Linked DNA regions of Homo sapiens: region 1 is linked to region 2. The links are contacts of gene promoters, found by promoter capture Hi-C in blood cells and fetal thymus (Javierre and others, 2016). All regions are on one chromosome and are shown on one strand. The core of a region is centred on a gene start or on the middle of the fragment in contact, and the rest is flanking DNA. Distances in the headings are between cores, read along the strand shown. Region 1 holds the start of HASPIN (histone H3 associated protein kinase). Region 2 holds the start of NCBP3 (nuclear cap binding subunit 3).

Evidence for each region. The method cuts DNA at HindIII sites, captures the fragments that hold promoters and counts their contacts. A CHiCAGO score of 5 or more calls a contact.
Region 1: a contact is called between the fragment with the promoter of HASPIN here and the fragment with the promoter of NCBP3 in region 2, in 1 of 17 cell types (M2 macrophages). The highest score is 6.6, in M2 macrophages.

What each region holds. Positions count from the first base shown.
Region 1 is chr17:3,721,793-3,725,897 of GRCh38, reverse strand. HASPIN (histone H3 associated protein kinase) reads right to left here and starts at 1,995. Exons shown (of 1, transcript NM_031965.2): 1 at 1-1,995. The coding sequence starts at 1,962. It overlaps ITGAE (integrin subunit alpha E), which reads left to right. Exons shown (of 31, transcript NM_002208.5): 27 at 2,154-2,210; 28 at 2,515-2,610. It also overlaps a transcript of P2RX5 not described here. RefSeq lists an enhancer at 1,310-2,065 and a silencer at 1,935-2,094. The HindIII fragment of the contact is 18,899 bases long and covers 1-4,105 here.
Region 2 is chr17:3,843,455-3,847,584 of GRCh38, reverse strand. It overlaps NCBP3 (nuclear cap binding subunit 3), which reads left to right and starts at 1,339. Exons shown (of 13, transcript NM_001114118.3): 1 at 1,339-1,544. The coding sequence starts at 1,362. RefSeq lists silencers at 1,051-1,170, 1,351-1,640. The HindIII fragment of the contact is 12,990 bases long and covers 1-4,130 here.

The DNA.
Region 1 (4,105 bases), core at 746-3,245, 120 kb after region 2:
GTTCCCCCAGTGTAAGTCTCGGTGCTCAAAGCGCAGTGATGCCTCTGCCACTGCGAGGGAGGCTGTGAGCTGGTGTAGAATGCTCTTTGCAGTAGCCAAGGAAGACAACTTGGTTCGCATTTGCTCTAAGTCAATCCCTCCAAACTCAAATTCCAGCACAATGAAGAGCTGGTCGTCTTTAAAAAAATCAGGCCGGTCATTTGCAGAGCCTTTGGTTGAATTATAGTGATCCCAGGCTTTGAGGAGCAAGGGAGGGTAAGATCCCTGGACACAGTGCACTGAGTTCAGCCCGATAAAGCCTTCTGTGCGGTTGCACACTTCACCGGATAAGAGGCTCAACTCTTTGGAGATGATGATCTCTGGCAGGATTTCCTCAAAGGTTTTCTGATGGGATCCATTGACTAAATCTGGTCCTTCAATAGCAATGATTTTTATGGCTACGGGTGTGTGATCAGCAATTGTTTGAAACACTTCGCCAAACACCCCTTCCCCAATCTTCTCACAGCGTTGCAGTTTTTCTGTGGGAAGGCAATGGCTAAAGGGGACAGGACCCTTCTGACTGCATTCCCCATAAACCTTTTCAGCATCAGATGCCTTTTTGTTTGAAATACTTAGAGTGTTTAAGGGGCTTAGCAAATACATAGAGGAGGAGTGCCAAGAGGACGGAGCACCACTTGTTCTGTTCATGACAGGCCGGTTTGAACATTCTGATAGGAGGGATCCAGAGAGAGAAGTGGCAGTGGTATAGATGCTGCAGACCTCTGACACATCAGTCACAATTTTCTTCTTGTGGAAACTGAAGGAAGCCCTGGTTTTGGTCCAAAAGCAGACATTCTGTAAAGGAGTCAGGTCCTGGGTGGGGAACGAATCTTTTCCCAGCTTTTGGCCCTTTTTAAAGCGGTGGGAATGGAGGAGAGAGGTTTCCGTTGCCTCCTGATGTTTGCTCTTCCGGCTTGATCTAGTTCTCTCCAGCCTGTCTATTCCCCTTGGCACAATGCGGCCCTTGGGAACACTGGCCTCCTGATGCTCTCTCCGGACGGCCTCTTGAAGCCCTCTCTCTTGACAAGAGTCCTGGCCTGTGGCCCTCCTCTTGCCTGTGCTTGACAGACCTGGACCCTCTGGTCCATTTCCCACCACCAGTTTCCTTTTACAGCAGGACTCTCTCATATTCTTCCCATCTGCCCGAAACTCAGAATCCTCAGGGGTTCCTGAGTTCATAAGGCCAAAGAGAACTGACCTGAGGCTGGCGCGGGTTTGGTGGACCATCCTGGTGTCCTTGGCTCCTCCTGTCGCTTCCTCCTGGGAGCAGGGGAGAGATGCTCGGTCCAGGGAGACTTCTGGGAGGTGGAGGCCGCTCGGGACGGCTGAGGCTGCAACCAGACAGGCGGAGGTGCCGATCGAGATGACACTGTCCCTTGGCGTTGGGGACCCGGGGCAGGGCGAGGCCAGAGAGCTGAACAGGGAGGCACTGATGCCCAGCTCGTCGCCGTCCCTGGGCTGGCCGCACACGCTGAGGTCCGGGCTGAGGCGGCCGGAGTCGCGGCTGGGGAAGGGCGGAAGTCGGAGCGGGCCGCAGGGTGTGCTGCACTTCTGCGGGGGCCGAGCTCGCAGCCCCAGGCGTCTTGGGGTCACGGTTAGGCTTGGGCGAGCTCGCAGCTTCCAGCGCTTTGGGGTCACGGTCAGGCTGGGCCGGTCCTTGGGCACTCGGCCGCCGGGACGCCTCCGCCGCCGCCTCACCGGGCTGCCGGGGAAGTCGGGGTCGTCGGGATCGTCAGGATCGTCGGACTGCGAGGGGTCGCCGATGCTGGCGTCGCTGCTGCCGCTGCTGTTGAAGAAACGCCTCCGGTCCTGCGGCGGGAACCACTGCGCGGCTTCCCGGCCCGGCCGCCGCTGTCTCCTGCCGTCCGCAGCCCCATATGTGCGGAAAAGCCGGCTCCCAGGTCCCGGGAGCGAAGCCGCCATGGCCGGCACCCGCCAAGAGGTTCAAACGCAAACATCGCGAGACTTCCGTGCGACGCGGACGCGCCCGCCTGCCGCGGGGTCCTAGCTCCCGGCCCTGCGCATGCGCACCTCGCCAGGGCCGGGGCCGGGACGGGACGGAAAACTGGCGGCTTGGTTTGTTCAGCGCGTCGCGGTCATGGCTCTCGTTTCAGGCCTCCACGGTGTGCACCTGGAGTCAGGAGCGCGCTTGTGCGTACAGTTCGGTTCAGGTAAGCGCGGCCGTCCCGAGAGGCCAGGGGAGGGCGGAGGGCCTGAAGCGGGTAACGAGAGGCCAGGAGACTGTTTTTCCTGGGTTACCCCTGCCGGCCAGTGCCGGGGGCTGCCAGGCCCTCCCTAGCTTCGTCCCTGGGTCTCAATTGCTCCCGCTGGAGCTTCGCTTGGGCCGAGGTGAGCGCTGAAATTGCTCACACCCTCTATTCTGGGACCTTACGATGCTCTGTGTCCGAAGTGTTAAAAAGATTTCAGACTTTCCGCACGGAAAGGAATTGTGTTCACTAGACCTCGCTTTTCCAGCATGTGGAAGAATGGCATTCAGTGAGCTGTGTCATCGCTTCAGATAAAGAAAATGTCACCGTGGCTGCAGAGATCTCCTGGGATCACTCTGAGGAGGTGTTTGAGACTGAAATGCTCCAGATTTGATTATCCAGTTGCTCACGGGCATCGCCCCTAGAAGAGATAATAGCATCTTTGCATAACATGTCCATGTCCAAAATAGATCTTTTGGTGCAAAAAACCAACCCTCTGTCCCAACCCGTTCCTTAGCTACCCTCAGGAGGGAGATATACTCCAGTTACAGTACAAGGAACTCGAGGGATTACCTGTGACTCCTCTTTCCTACATCCCCACGTCTATTCCAGCAGCAAGCCCTGCCATTTCAGGGCCAAAATATATCCTAAACCCATTCACTTCTCTCCATTTCCACTGCCGTTGTAATTCAAGCTACCCTTTCTTGCCAGGGCTGTTGCAATAACCTTCGGCCTGCCTTTCTTGCCTCTGCTTTTCCCACATTCTTTACAAATAATTCCCACGTAACAGCTATCCGTCTTCTAAGAGCAGACATTAGATTGTGCCATTCCCCTGCTTATTAAAAATAACAAACAAACAAAACTGATGCTTGAGCACACTTAGACTAAAATCCATACTTTTTTCATGGCCAGAGCAAGGCAGTACTTGATCTGGTCTCTGCTTAATTCTTCAACTTCATCTCCTAGTACTCGCCTTTCTCTCCCACTGCCCCTTTTATAATCGGGTTATTCTGTCCTATTCTTCTAGCTCGCCAGTACAGCATTATTCTGGCCACAAGACTTTGTACTTGCTGTTCCTTTGCTTGACACTGCTCTTCCTCTAGGTCCTGACGTAGGTGGTTTCTTCTTAAATTTAGCTCAGGTGTTCTTTTCTTTTTTTTTTTTTTTTTTTTAGATGGAGTCTTGCTCTGTCACCCGGGCTGGAGTGCAGTGGCACGATCTCTACTCACTGCAACCTCCGCCTCCCGGGTTCAAGTGATTCTCCTGCCTCAGCCTCCCGAGTAGCTGGGATTACAGGCGCCGGCGACCACGCCCAGCTAATTTTTGTATTTTTAGTAGAGAGGGGGTTTCACCATGTTGGCCAGGCTGGTCTCGAACTCCTGACCTCAGGTGATCGCCCGCCTCAGCCTCCCAAAGTGCTGGGATTACAGGCGTGAGCCACCGCACCCGACCTAGGTGTTCTTTTCTTTTCTTTTCTTTCTTTCAAGACGGAGTTTCGCTCTTGTTGTGCAATGGCACGATCTCGGCTCACTGCAACCTCCGCCTCCCGGGTTCAAGCGATTCTCCTGCCTCAGCCTCCCAAGTAGCTGGGATTACAGGTATGCGCCACCATACCCGGCTAATTTTGTATTTTTAGTAGAGATGGGGTTTCTCCATGTTGGTGAGGCTGGTCTTGAACTCCTGACCTCAGGTGATCCGCCCTCCTTGGCCTCCCAAAGTGCTGGGATTACAGGCGTGAGCCACCACGCCCGGCTAATTTTGTATTTTTAGTAGAGATGGGGTTTCATCGTGTTGGTCAGGCTGGTCTTGAACTCCTGACCTCAGATGATCTACCCACCTCAGCCTCCCGAAGTGCTGGG
Region 2 (4,130 bases), core at 90-2,589:
GTAGGTAGGTAATGGTCCATTTTACTGATGAAGGAACTGAGACTCCAAAGTGCTAAGCAGCTTGCCTAAGGTCACACATGGTGGATGGGGCCCGGCCAGCCAGCTCGAAACCCAGGTGTGTCTGATGCTGACCATGCTCTTCCTTGGTTTATCATTATTTGCTCCTCCATGGTCAGAGCTGGTAGGGCCTCAGGGCCTCAGAGACTGTAGGGTCTCACCTATGCCCTCCTCAGATGGGAAAACAGACCCAAAAACCTGTCCAAGGTTACCCAGGGAGGAAGATGCAAAATCAGGACTCAGGCCGGGCGCGGTGGCTCATGCCTGTAATCCCAAGACTTTGGGAGGCCGAGGCGGGTGGATCGCTTGAGGTTAGGAATTCGAGACCAGCTTAGTCAACATGGTGAAACCCTGTCTCTACAAAAAAAAAAAAAAAAAAGAAAGAAAGAAAGAAAGAGGAGAGGGAGGAAGGAAGGAAAAGAGAAAGAAAGAAAAGAAGAAAGAAAGGAAGGAAGAAAGGAATAAAGAAAGAAAGAAAGAAAGAAAAAGAAAATCAGGACTCAGAACAGCAGCTGATCAGTGACACCCTCGGGACGCGTAGACAACCCCTCTCCCCCACCAGGCTCTCGTTAGAAATATCCGCCGGAAACTATGCTCACAGGTCTACAGTGGATGGCACCCTCAGGAGTCAGGAAATCGGCGTCCAAGTTCTGGCCTTTGGGCAGGTCTCTCCCTCTTGGAGTCTCAATTTTTGTGTATGTAACATGGGCCAATTTTGGGGAGACTTTTAAGAGACAAAGACTGGCAAGGCAAGTAACTTTATAAACCTACAGATTGTCCAGAGGTGATATATCAAGGCTCATTGTAAACTCTGGAAGACTTAGATCCAGCTTTTATCCCTTAAATGGCGTCACCTTGGGTCAATTTCTATGCCTCAGTTTCCTCATATATGAAATGGGGGTCAAAATAGGATCTACTTCATAGAGTTGTTCTAAGGGTTCGAGCGCTTGGAAGTGTCTGGCCCATAGTGATCACTCAGGAAAGTTGGCTTTTAGTACAGCTTTAGCCTCAAGGCGTAGCTACATTGTAACCCTTGACTACCCCGGTCTCCTCCAAGCTCCGTAGTTCCCGCAGGCCCCGCCCCCGTCCCCGCTCAGTCCCGCCTTCTCCTCCCCAGGTCCCGCCCGCGCAGCCGGCCCGGTTTTCTCCCGCCACCAGGGGGCGGCGGCGCTAAGGGCGGCCTTCTGGGCCGAAGCCGGCGACGCTCTAGGTAGCTGCGGCGGCTCCTCTGTGGCCAGTGGCAGCGGCGCTCTAGCCGGCGGCCGTGAGGGGCGGGCTCTCAGTGGTGCGGCCGGCAGGCAGCGATGGCGGCCGTACGGGGCCTGCGGGTGTCGGTGAAGGCGGAGGCCCCGGCGGGGCCGGCCCTGGGGCTCCCGTCCCCTGAGGCGGAGTCCGGTGTTGACCGTGGCGAGCCGGAGCCCATGGAGGTGGAGGAGGGCGAGCTGGAAATCGTGCCTGTGCGGCGCTCGCTCAAGGAACTGATCCCGGTACGGGCGGGGGTCGGGGGGTAAGGAAGAGGTCGCGGGGCTAGTGTCTAGCGCCGGAGGGGGCCGGAAGGGGCGGTGGCCGGAGCCCCAGCCGGGGAAGTCAAGGGAGCGGGAGAGGAGGGAGCCAGCGTCCTGGGAACGGGAACGCCGGGCTGGAGGAGGGACGCGGAGCGGGAGAAAGGACGCCGGGGCGCCGGAAATGGGTGTTGAGGGGGCTGGGGGGTGGTGGCGGAGAGCTGGGAGGGAGTTGAGGACCCCCCTCCGCTGCCCCCTCTGAGCCGCGCTGTGCAAGGAGGTGAGTGAGGAGGGGCTGGAAGGATGAGATAAAGGGGGAGCCCTGGGCGGGAACAGAACCAGGGGCAGCCCAGAAGGAGCTGTTGGGTGGCGCCAGCAACCAGGTCTCCTTGTGGGTCTTGCCCCGGAGGAATTTGTATCTGGGAAACATGGCACTCGCTCTTTGTCTTGAGAGGGCTGCACTTGTCAGCAGCAGAAACTCACTGTTTCTGTCGTGACTTCGGGGTCATCTTGCCCCCCCCGCAGCTCCAGTGACACCTACACCGTGGCCCCAGCATCTGACTCTTAATGAAAGCAAACTAGCAGACGACCAATAGACATCCTTGGTCCCTCCTTTACCGCGCTGGGGATGGTGAGAGGTGTTTTGCTTGTGACTTGGTGGCTGTATATCCAGTTCTCAGAGCTGGTTTCAGGCCTGGATGACTCCTCTTAATTTCTCACCTAACATGAATTACTTTTGACCACATGTCAACATATTTAGACTGAAGTTATGGAGAAAGGTTAAAGTATGATCGCTAGAGATGGCAAACGTTATAATTATGATTAACAACAGCTAATATAGTAGCATTTACCATTCACTATATTGTGTCACTTAAATATACTGGCCGTGCACGCCTTTAGTGCCAGCTATTCAGGAGTCTAAGTTCCAGACCAGCCTCAGCAATATAGCAAGACCCCTTTGAGGTCCCCCCTTTCCCCTCTCCCCATCTCAAAAACAAAACCAAAATAAATAAATATTACTGCAGTTGTGAAGCAGGTGTTATCATCCCTTTAGTCATTCAGTTCAACATGGTTTTTGTTTTGTTTTGTTTTGAGACGGAGTTCGCTCTTGTTGCCCAGGCTGGAACGCAATGGCGCGATCTCGGCTCACCGCAACTTCCGCCTCCCGGGTTCAAGCCATTCTCCTGCCTCAGCCTCCTGAGTAGCCAAGTACAATGGCCTGATCTTGGCTCACCGCAACCTCCGCCTCCTGGGTTCAAGCTACTCTTCTGCCTCAGCCTCCCAAGTAGTTGAGATTACAGGGATGTGCCACCGTGCCCGGCTAATTTTGTATTTTTAGTAGAGACGGGGTTTCTCCATGTTGGCCAGGCTGGTCTCGAACACCTGACCTCAGGTGATCCGCCCGCCTCTGCCTCCCAAAGTGCTGGGATTACAGGCCTGAGCCATTGCGTCCGGCCAACATGTATTTATTGCATCCCCCGCTATGTACCAAGGCACAGCCCTAGGTGCTTGATCAAGCTCAACCTCCCTCCTGGAGTTTATGTTCCATATAAACTCTAAATGACAAAAAGCCAATCTTGTGAAGATTGAAAAGGAGTTCCCCCAGCAGGGCCAGTAACAAGCACAGAGGCTCTGGGATGGGTCCAGGATTGTTGGAAACTTCTGTAGTACTAATGGAAGGGCAGTAAAAGAGGTCAGGAAGGCAGGTAGATACCACAGAGGAAACTGAGACCCAGAGAGGTCAAGAAAACTATACAGTGTCCTGTAATTAGTGACTGTCAGAGCTGAGGCTTCAGTCCTCGCTTGGTTTCCAAATCCCATCCCCTTTGCATTGCACTGTGCTGTATTTGCCTCAGGAGTTCTAGGTGAGGCTGGACCTTCTGCGTTGAGGTGGAGGGTTGTGCTCCACCTGGTGGCTGGGCATGAGGAATTCGTTCAGACTGGGTTGGGGAGCTAAGTGACTGTGCCTTATCTTTTGACATTTTCCACAAAAGCCTTTAGATTTTCTTTACATGGATACTTGGAGTTGATGGAATCACTTCAGTTTTTGGACAGGCTCTGATCTTCTTATTGGAGTGGTTGATTGATACCATGGAATCACTAGGATGGGGCTTCTTAATAAAAGGTTGTCAGGGGTGGGGAAGGGTTTTGAAAAGAGTGGCTATTCAAAAAGAACCAGACTTGCCAGGTGTGGTGGCTCATGCCTGTATCCCAGCACTTTGGGAGGCTGAGACAGACGGATCACCGAGGTCAGGAGTTTGAGACCAGTATGCCAACATGGTGAAACCTCGTCTCTACTAAAAATAAAAAAATTAGCTGGCGGTGGTGGCACATGCCTGTAATCCCAGCTACTCAGGAGGCTGAGACAGGAGAATCGCTTGAACCCAGGAGGTAGAGGTTGCAGTGAGCCGAGTTTGTGCCACTGCACTCCCGCCTAGGCGATAAGAGTGAGACTCCATCTCAAAAAACAAACAGAAAAACAGAAAGAACCAGACTGGTTGTGATGACTCACACATGTGATCCTAACACTTTGGGAGACTGAGGCAGGAGGACTGCTTTAGCCCAGGAGTT